Linked DNA regions of Homo sapiens: region 2 is linked to region 1. Evidence: promoter capture Hi-C in 16 types of primary human blood cells and fetal thymus (Javierre and others, 2016). All regions are on one chromosome and are shown on one strand. Each heading gives the region's core, a stretch centred on a gene start or on the middle of the fragment in contact. The rest is flanking DNA. Distances are from core to core; before and after follow the strand shown.

Region 1 (4,622 bases), core at 320-2,819:
ATAACTAACACACTGCAGGTTAAATTAGGGACTCAAAAATATTTGCGGAGTGCACTTTTTTTTTTTTTTTTTAAACCATAGATGGAGTTTCTACATACACTGCAGTCGTCGTGGCTGGGCAATTTATTCTTTTCATATGATCTCTGTACCTATTTCATACTTTATTGTAGGTTTATGAAATATTAACATAGGGTGATAATTACGAGGGCCTTTTTTGCTTATCTTAAATTTTTAAAAAAAATTTTTTTAAAGGAAGGCAGAGACTTGAGCATCTTTATGGGCTGAGGAGGCAGAGTCATTGGAAAAGGGGAGGTTGCAGATACGGTGCAAGCTCCCAGACAGGAGAGGGTGAATTGGGGGCCAAAAGGATTGAGCTGGGGAAGAAGAGGCCCCTTCCTCAGAGAGATGAGGGAGAAAGGCAGACCAGGGCAGATGTGGATGTAGGTAAATGTTGTGGTGTGTGGGGAATTAGCTTGTTAAGGGTCACGCCCAGATACCTTGGGATTTTTCACGTGGGTATAAAATATGATTCTCTGATGAGAATGATGGTCAAGGTAATGTGGGGGTCGTGGTGGTGGTCTGACGCAGCAGTAATAAGGAATGGGAGAAGCTGACTACAGACTCCCAGAAAGATTGCTGAAGGGCCCAGCTGAGGATGGTGACTGGGATTTGCACTGGACTCAACCTGCAGGTTTCGATGGTGCTTTCCAACTCCAGGAAAACTGGGCTGGGATTTGACAAAACTCTTGAGGAAAAGGACTCACAGAATTTAAAACTGCATTTCCCTTTAGGTTTCGTCTGCTTTCCATCCTCCCCTACCAAGCCCCACAACTGCGGCGAGCATGTTTTCTGCAGTTAACTGCACTGCGCTCTCAGCAGGACAGAAATGACGAATAACTCTAGCCAAGCTGAACAAGATAGGGCTTGGGCTTGGTAACTTTATTTGCATCAGCATTTGCAACACAACACCTAAATGAAAAAATTAACTATAAAGCCGACATCACTTACTCTGGGTCAGGGAACTGTGCCATTCGCTTTAAGTGCATTTACTTAATCTCAAAAAAGTATTAAGAAGTGAGTCCTTTTATTAATCCGACTTTACACACCAGAGGTCTAAGGCCTAAATAAATGAGCAATTTGCTTAAGATCATATGGCTGGTTATTGGTGGAGTCATGCAAGTCTGGAAACAGAGTCATCGCTAACTCCGGTTCAGTGCTACACGAGTGAACTGTCTACAACAAAGCAATAACATATTATGAGTGCCCACAGTATCGAACACATACGGTAACCGCAGTCCAGCCAGCACCCCTGCAGTGCCCAGAGCACCAAGCACCCATCCGTTGACCCCGCATGCGTGACGCTCACGCGCGCAGTCCCCCTGGCTTCTTCCAGGAAGGCTGAAGCGGCCTAATCTCGGCCAAAAGATCAGGACGACTCGATCTGGGCTGGACTCCTTCTGCCTGAGCATCTGATCCGAGCGTCGGCCGGGCTGGGAGGAGCCGGCCCCCGGGAAAGATTTCGGACTGGGGGACAGGAAAACAGAGGGCGGAGTCTTGGGGGGGGGAAGCGAGAAGCCGCATCAACCATGTAAGCAGCTTCGCTTCCTGCCGCAACCGTCCGCGGCCTGAGGAGCCCACCGCCGCTCTCGGGGGCCGACTTCCGGGGGCTGAGCCGTTGAAGCGGAGGCTGGGGCGGGGGGCAGCCGGCGCGGCCGGGGCAGGAGGCGCAGGTAAGGGAGGGGGCCTGGAGCTTGGCCGGCTGGGGCTCAGCATGGGAAGGAGGCCGGTATGGGGAGCTCCAGGGCCAGAGCTGAGGTGAAAGTGAGAACCAGGGCTCCGCAGTCGGGGGCTAGGGCCTGGCTGCCGGCTGAGCAAGGAAGGGCAGAGAATCTGGCTTTAGAATTAGCTTGTCCTCCCTATTCCCCGGCTGCCTTGTCTGGCGAGTGGGGACGGAAGCCGGGTGGGGCCCTTGAGATTTCCTTGGAAACATTTGAAGTTCCTTTGCCTCTCTCTCGACCCTTACGCCTGAACTTAATTAGGAGGGGAAGAGTACAGTTACTTTTCCCTCTGAGTGCATGAGTTCTGAGTTTGTCAGAGGCGCATCCGTAGGCTGGAAAAGAAAGTTCATGAGCTGCAGAAACGATACCAACCGTGGGGGTTCAAATAAGTGTTTGTCTTTTTAAATGCTTGCCTCTGCTATTTGAGACGATTCCATTTCAACTTAGGTTTTGGAGTTTCTTGAGGAGGAGCATTATTTCCCAATTAGTGTTTACCCTTTGCTTAGAATGTTCCCAACAAAAGGATGAGAATGGAATGTGTTGGAAACTTTTAGGACTTAGGGGTTTTCTGCCCAATCAGAGGTTATTCCTAAGACAGTCAAGAAATATAAGAAGTGCTAGAATTCTGTATAAAGCAAGTTATTCGTGTGTATCTGATGTGTATACATGATTCATTATCTACTATTGACGCAGTGCATCCTGTGTTGTAAAATATGTCCAGTGTTGACAATAGAGGTAGTCGCTTGGTATAATGTACTTATTTCTGATTTATTTGAGCCCCTTTTTTGGCACTCCAAAACTCCCACTCTGTCAGTTTTCTTACAAAAAATGTTCTTTCTTTTGTGTTTGTGACAAAGATTGTGTAGGTTAAATCTCTTCTGTGGAGCAAGGCTAATTTCCTGTGTTCTCCCTTTTTCTGCTTTCTGGATCCTGCTCTGGTTTTCCTTTAAGCGTGTTGGTCAAAAATTGAACAAGAAATCTTTGTTGATAGAAGCTAACATTTCCAATATTCAGCTTTCCTAAATTATTACATTGCCAGTTTTTTTTTTTTTTTTTTTTGAGAGACAGAGTCTCGCTCTGTCCCCCAGGTTGGAGTGCAGTGGCGCGATCTCCTCCGACTGCAACCTCCGCCTCCCAGGGTTCAGGCGATTCTCCTGCCTCAGCCTCCTGAGTAGCTAGATTGCAGGCGCGCGACACCACACTCGGCTAATTTTTGTATTTTTAGGGGAGACGGGGTTTCACCATGTTAGCGAAGCTGGTTTTGAATTCCTGACCTCAGGCGATTCACCCGCCTCGGCCTCCCAAGGTGCTGGGATTACAGGCGTGAGCCACCGGGCGGGGGTCTCCCTCCCTCGCCCAGGCTGGAGTGAAGTGGTGTGATCTCGGCTTACTGCAGTCTCCGCCTCCCAGGCTCAAGGGATTCTCCTGCCTCGGCCTCCCAAAGTGCTGGGATCACAGGTGTGAGCAGCCACGTCCGGCCTTTACTGACTGGCTTCTGATAGTTTGTAGTAGGTCTGCATATATTAGTAGCCTTAATTAGAAATGGTGAAGTATTGGTGATATATCAGAAGGCTTTGGGTAGGTAGGTTAATAGGACTGATTACCACTCAGGAAAGAGTCCTAATTTATATTTTAAAGCGTTGTTAAGCTGCTAAAGAGTGAGAGTTATAAGATAATTTTTTCAGGGCCCTAGTGTCATTATGTAATTATTAGGGTTAACTATATGATTGGGTTTATATTTCAGAGACTACACTTGCTAAGTGTTTTCATGGGAATTTTTATCTTCTTATTTCCAAAGCCGAGTATAATTTTTGTGTAGATAACCTTTAGAAGTAATTCTAAGACTCTTTAGGCAGAATGTCATCTCTGCCTCTGACATTACTTGTGTCAAAGTAGAATGTAGGCTGTTTTCCAGGGGTGGTTGTTACGGCCATCACATTATCGTTTCTCTCCAGAGCTCTTTTTTTTTTTTTTTTTTTTTTCCCTAAATAAAATAGAGATGAAGTCTCGCTATGTTGACTAGGCTGGTCTGGAACTCCTGGCCTCAAGCGATCCTCCCGTCTCAGCCTCCTAAAGTGCTGGGATTACAGACATGAGGCCACAGTGCCTGGCCTCTTTTTTTTTTTAATATAAAAAAAACACAAACTTTTTTTTGAGTGTATACTTATTCAGTTATCAGCTTACTTCCCAACACTTTTTGCTGAATTGTCATGACACTTCAGAAGGATTGTTGATGATTATTCTCAGTGGAAGATATTAGAAACCTTCCTTCCCCTTCTTCTTCCTTTTCTCCTTCCTCTTTCCTTCCCCTTCCTCTTCCTCTTTTTCTTCCCCCCCCAATAAACATGTATTGCCAAAATTCTGTTTAAGTCAGTGGTTTCATTTCTGCCTTAATTTATTAATTAAATTATTGATCAGACAAAGCCTTAAGTAGTTAGAGAACGCGGATAGGCTAAAAGGGAAGTGTGAAGAGCTACAAAAGTAATTTTGATTTAGGTAATACTTTTGGGGTGAGACTTGGGGTATAGTGACAGTTCTACTAATGTCTGTGTGACCCCCAAGAAAGTTGTTTTAGGTTCAGAGTACCTTGGTTGCCTCAAAGGTAAAATGTCATAAAGCCAGCTGTGTGTGCCTTCCAGGATTGTAAGAGTAAAATGAGATGGTAGCTATGATTTTGAATGTGAAAAGCATTTTACCGAGACTGTAATGTCCTCTTTGTAAAGTGGAGACTAGATTATAAACTATAGTATATATATTGTTTTCTCCAAGGGAGGAACCTTGTCTTTATTTTGAAACAGTAGGTAGCCTCCTGGTGGCTGGAACATGCTTCTGCCTGCAGGGGGC
Region 2 (4,052 bases), core at 1,331-3,830, 120 kb before region 1:
CTGCAACCTCCACCTTCTGGGTTCAAGTGATTCTCCTGCCTGAGCCTCCCGGGTAGCGGGATTACAGGCGCCCACCACCACGATTAGCTAATATTTTGTATTTTTAGTAGAGACGGGCTTTGACTATGTTGGCCAGGCTGGTCTTAAACTCCGTCAGGAGTTCAGGCGATCCACCCACCTCAGCCTCCCAAAGTGCTGGGATCACAGGGGTGAGCCACGCGCCCAGCTCTGTTTCTTATCCATGTCTAACCAGGAAGCCCCTACTTCCTGTCTTACCAGACTGAACCAATTTACAACTTATACATATTGATTGATGTCTCATGTCTCCCTAAAATGTATAAAAGCAAACTGTACCCCTGACCACTTTGGGCACATGTCTCAGGACTTTCTGAGGCTGTGTCATGGGTGCATCCTCAACCTTGGCAAAATAAACCTTCTTTCTGGGTTTTTTTTTTTTTTTGAGATGGAGTTTCACTCTTGTTGCCCAGGCTGGAGTGCAATGGCGTGATCTCGGCTCACCACAACCTCTGCCACCCAAGTTCAAGCAATTCTCCTGCCTCAGCCTCCCAAGTAGCTGGGATTACAGGCACGCGCCACCACGCCCAGCTAATTTTGTATTTTTAGTAGAGGTTTCTCCATGTTGGTCAGGCTGGTCTCAAACTCCGGACCTCAGGTGATCTGCCTGCTTTGGCCTCCCAAAAGTGCTGGGATTACAGGCATGAGCCACTGTGCCCAGCCTTGGCAAAATAAACTTTCTAAATTGACTGAGACCTGTCTCAGATATTTGGGGTTCACTATTATATGCGCACGCACACACACACACACATATATGTATTTGTTTCTTGAGACAGGGTCTCCCTCTGTCACCTAGGCTGGAGTGCAATGGCATGATCATGGGTCACAGCCCCCTCAACCTTCTGGGCTCAAGTGACCCTCCCACCTCAGCCTCCTGAGTAGCTGGAACTACAGGCATGCACCACCACATCTGGCTAATTTTCAGTTCAAATTTCTTTTCTTTTTTTTTTTTTTTTGAGACGGAATCTTGCTCTGTCACCCAGACTGGAGTGCAGTGGCATGATCTCAGCTCATTGCAACCTACCCTTCCCGGGTTCAAGCGATTCTCCTGCCTCAGCCTCCCAAGTAGCTGAGACTACAGGCGCGTGCCACCAAGCCCAGCTAATTTTTGTATTTTTAGTAGAGAGGGGGTTTCACCATATTGGCCAGGGTGGTCTTGAACTCCTGACCTCCTGACCTCGGCCTCCCAAAGTGCTGGGATTACAGGCGTGAGCCACCGCACCCAGCCTTCAGTTCAAATTTCAACCTATCTGACTTTTAAGCTTCCTTTCTAGCCTCCTGCTCTCAACTTATTTATTTCCCTCAGCAGCAAGTATCACCTTCATTAACTTCTGTTTTTATGACACTGTATCCCATGCCTCCCACACACCACAATTCTAAGAATTCTGCAGTCACTGCCCAGAAAATATGGAATCTCAAACTTTAGTTTCAGATTTGGCCTTTTCTCTAATTTATACCTCTAAGTGAGCTAATAGGTACTGACCATTAAATTAGAATAGAAATCAGAAGACAGGATCCTATCTTCTCAGGAGGAATAATCAAATAGAAAAGTAAGACAAAGCAAGCAAAAGTTTGTTGTTGTTGTTGTTGTTGTTGTTATTGTCGTTTTGAGATGGAGTCTCACTCTGTCACCAGGCTGGAGTGCAGTGGCACGATCTCGGCTCACTGCAACCTCCATCTCCCGGCTTCAAGCAAGCAATTCTCCTGCCCCAGCCGCCCGAGTAGCTGGGATTTAAGAATAATGTGATTAAATAGGCCGGATGCCGTGGTTCACACCTGTAATCCCAGCACTTTGGGAGGCCGAGGCGGGCGGATCACTTGAGGCCAGGAGTTCGAGATCAGCCTGGGCAACATGGTGCAACCTCGTCTCTACTATGAATACAAAAATTGGCTGGGCATGGTGGTGCATGCCTGTAATCCCAACTACTCAGGAGGCTGAGGCAGGGGAATTGCTTGAACCCGGGAGGCGGAAGTTGCAGTGAGCCGAGATCATGCCACTGCACTCCACCCTGGGGGACAGAGCGAGACTCCGCCTCAAAAAAAAAAAAAAAAAAAAAAAGAATATCATGAAATAGCTTTTATTTCCAAAAAGATGGAAGGCAAAGACAGAGCCACACTCACCGGGGGGATGAGGCAGCAGGAGCGGATGGAGTCGCTGAGGCCCATCCATTGCTGGTAGTCAGGGTACTCCCCACGCCGCAGGAAGTACTGGTGGCCCTGGTAGTTGGGGCGCTCATAGATCATCCAGCAGCCGCTCTCCACCCTGATGGAGTTGCAGCGGCTGAAATAGGGTTGTAGGTTGGGGCAGTCAGTGGTGCATTCGTAGCTGCGGCCCTGGAAGGCCCTGTCCTCGTAGAAGGTGATCTGAAAAATGGAAGATGTGGGAGCATGGAGTGATTGGCCCCCACTGAGGCCACTGCATTAGGGCCAAGGCTGAGCATCCGGTACCCAGGACTTACCTTTCCCATTTTGAAGGAAGTGAGCAGATGTTTTCTGGTTGCTGTGTGGGACTGCGGGAACGTCACTGTATGTATAGCAGCCCTGACTGCTGCCTCCACAGGAAATCACACAAAAGGGCCCATTTTGGTGAGTAAGGGGATTTGCAAGCTCGCTGCTCTCCGTGCCCAGGTCACTGGGGTTGGCTGAATGGTTTACTCTCATTCTTTCTGGTAGGTTCGGGTTGTTCTAATTCACTAAAGCTGTTGTTGCCATCAAAATGAATAGAGTACACTTTTAGTTGAGCAAAAGGATGGGCGAAATTCTGTCTCTGTGCTTTTATTTTATAGTTTACTCTGCTTAATTGACTTCTCAAAAGTCATTAAACTAAGTAATGAATTCTGCTCAGGGACTGGTGGTGTTTTTGTGTGTGTGTGTGTGTGTGTTTTAGTTCTAAAAGCCAGAATTTAAATAGTAAGGAATCTTAAAGAAGAGGGAATCAAGTGAAGTAATCTGTGAAAGTGTGTTAAAACCCATAAAGCTTAGTTCAAATTCAAAATTCTGTGATCAGCCAGGCGAGGTGGTGCACACCTATAATCCCAGGACTTTGGGAGGCTGAGGCAGGTGGATTGCTTGAGCTCAGGAGTTAGAGACCAGCCTAGGTAACATGGTGAGACCCCATCTCTACAACAAATACAAAAATTAGCCCTGCATGGTGGCGCATACCTGTAGTCCCAGCTATTTGGGAGGCTGAGGTGAGAGGATTGCTTAAGCTCAGGAGGTCGAGGTTGCAGTGAGCCATGATTGCACCACTGCACTCCAGCCTGGGCAACAGAGCAAGACCCTGTCGCAAAAAAAAAAAAAAAAAAATTCTGTGATCATCATTGTTGGTGTTTGGGGGCTTGTCTTGAATAAAACTGATACTTGCCTGGAATTTTGTAGGCTTCTGGGGGCTGGGTATTATTTCTTGTTCATGTCTATCCCTGAGCCCTAGAGCAGAGGGTTGGCACATTGCAGGTCCTCAATAATTGGCTCTGACCTGAGCAAAAACAGATAGTTGTGGCTTTCTTCCCCCTTTCAGATCTTCCTAAGGGCCTAAATCCCTCCTTCTGCTGGTGGCTGTCCAGAGTCCTGCCTGCTGTTTGGTGTTCCTGCTCTGCCTCAAATGTTACCACTAAGTGGCTGATTGGTCTTCTCAAGGCATGGGACCAAAAGGGCTCAGAGTTGGTCCCTATTGCTGGCAGATTGGACATTCTACAGTGGAAATAGCTGGATTAGCCTTAATAAGTAGAAGTTAATGCATAGCCTTCATCCATACCACTATGAACGCTCTCTTAGTGAGCTCACTGCCAGCAGTAGGGTGGCTGATGGCAGACGCTGACTGGAATCAAATGACCAAATCATTTTTTCTACTTGGTTGTTTAGTGCCTCTTCAATGGTGGATGCCCTACACTGGGCCTTCACATGGGATACAACTATCTTCGCCCTTTGTGCCCAATCCCATATCTCCCTGCACATTCCTCTACCCCAGACCTTCTTGT

What was found. The method cuts DNA at HindIII sites, captures the fragments that hold promoters and counts their contacts. A CHiCAGO score of 5 or more calls a contact.
Region 2: the fragment with the promoter of CRYGB here is called in contact with the fragment with the promoter of PIKFYVE in region 1 in 15 of 17 cell types (neutrophils, M1 macrophages, naive CD8 T cells and 12 more); the score reaches 13.5 in neutrophils.

The regions. Positions count from the first base shown.
Region 1 is chr2:208,264,686-208,269,307 of GRCh38, forward strand. It overlaps PIKFYVE (phosphoinositide kinase, FYVE-type zinc finger containing), which reads left to right and starts at 1,570. Exons shown (of 42, transcript NM_015040.4): 1 at 1,570-1,730. It also overlaps the pseudogene MYL6BP1. RefSeq lists an enhancer at 1,407-1,456 and a silencer at 1,587-1,856. The HindIII fragment of the contact is 8,601 bases long and covers 1-4,622 here.
Region 2 is chr2:208,143,578-208,147,629 of GRCh38, forward strand. It overlaps CRYGB (crystallin gamma B), which reads right to left and starts at 2,581. Exons shown (of 3, transcript NM_005210.4): 1 at 2,535-2,581; 2 at 2,197-2,439. The coding sequence starts at 2,543. All of the region lies in intron 2 of LOC100507443 (a long non-coding RNA gene), which reads left to right. RefSeq lists enhancers at 1-165, 1,773-2,396. The HindIII fragment of the contact is 1,715 bases long and covers 1,336-3,050 here.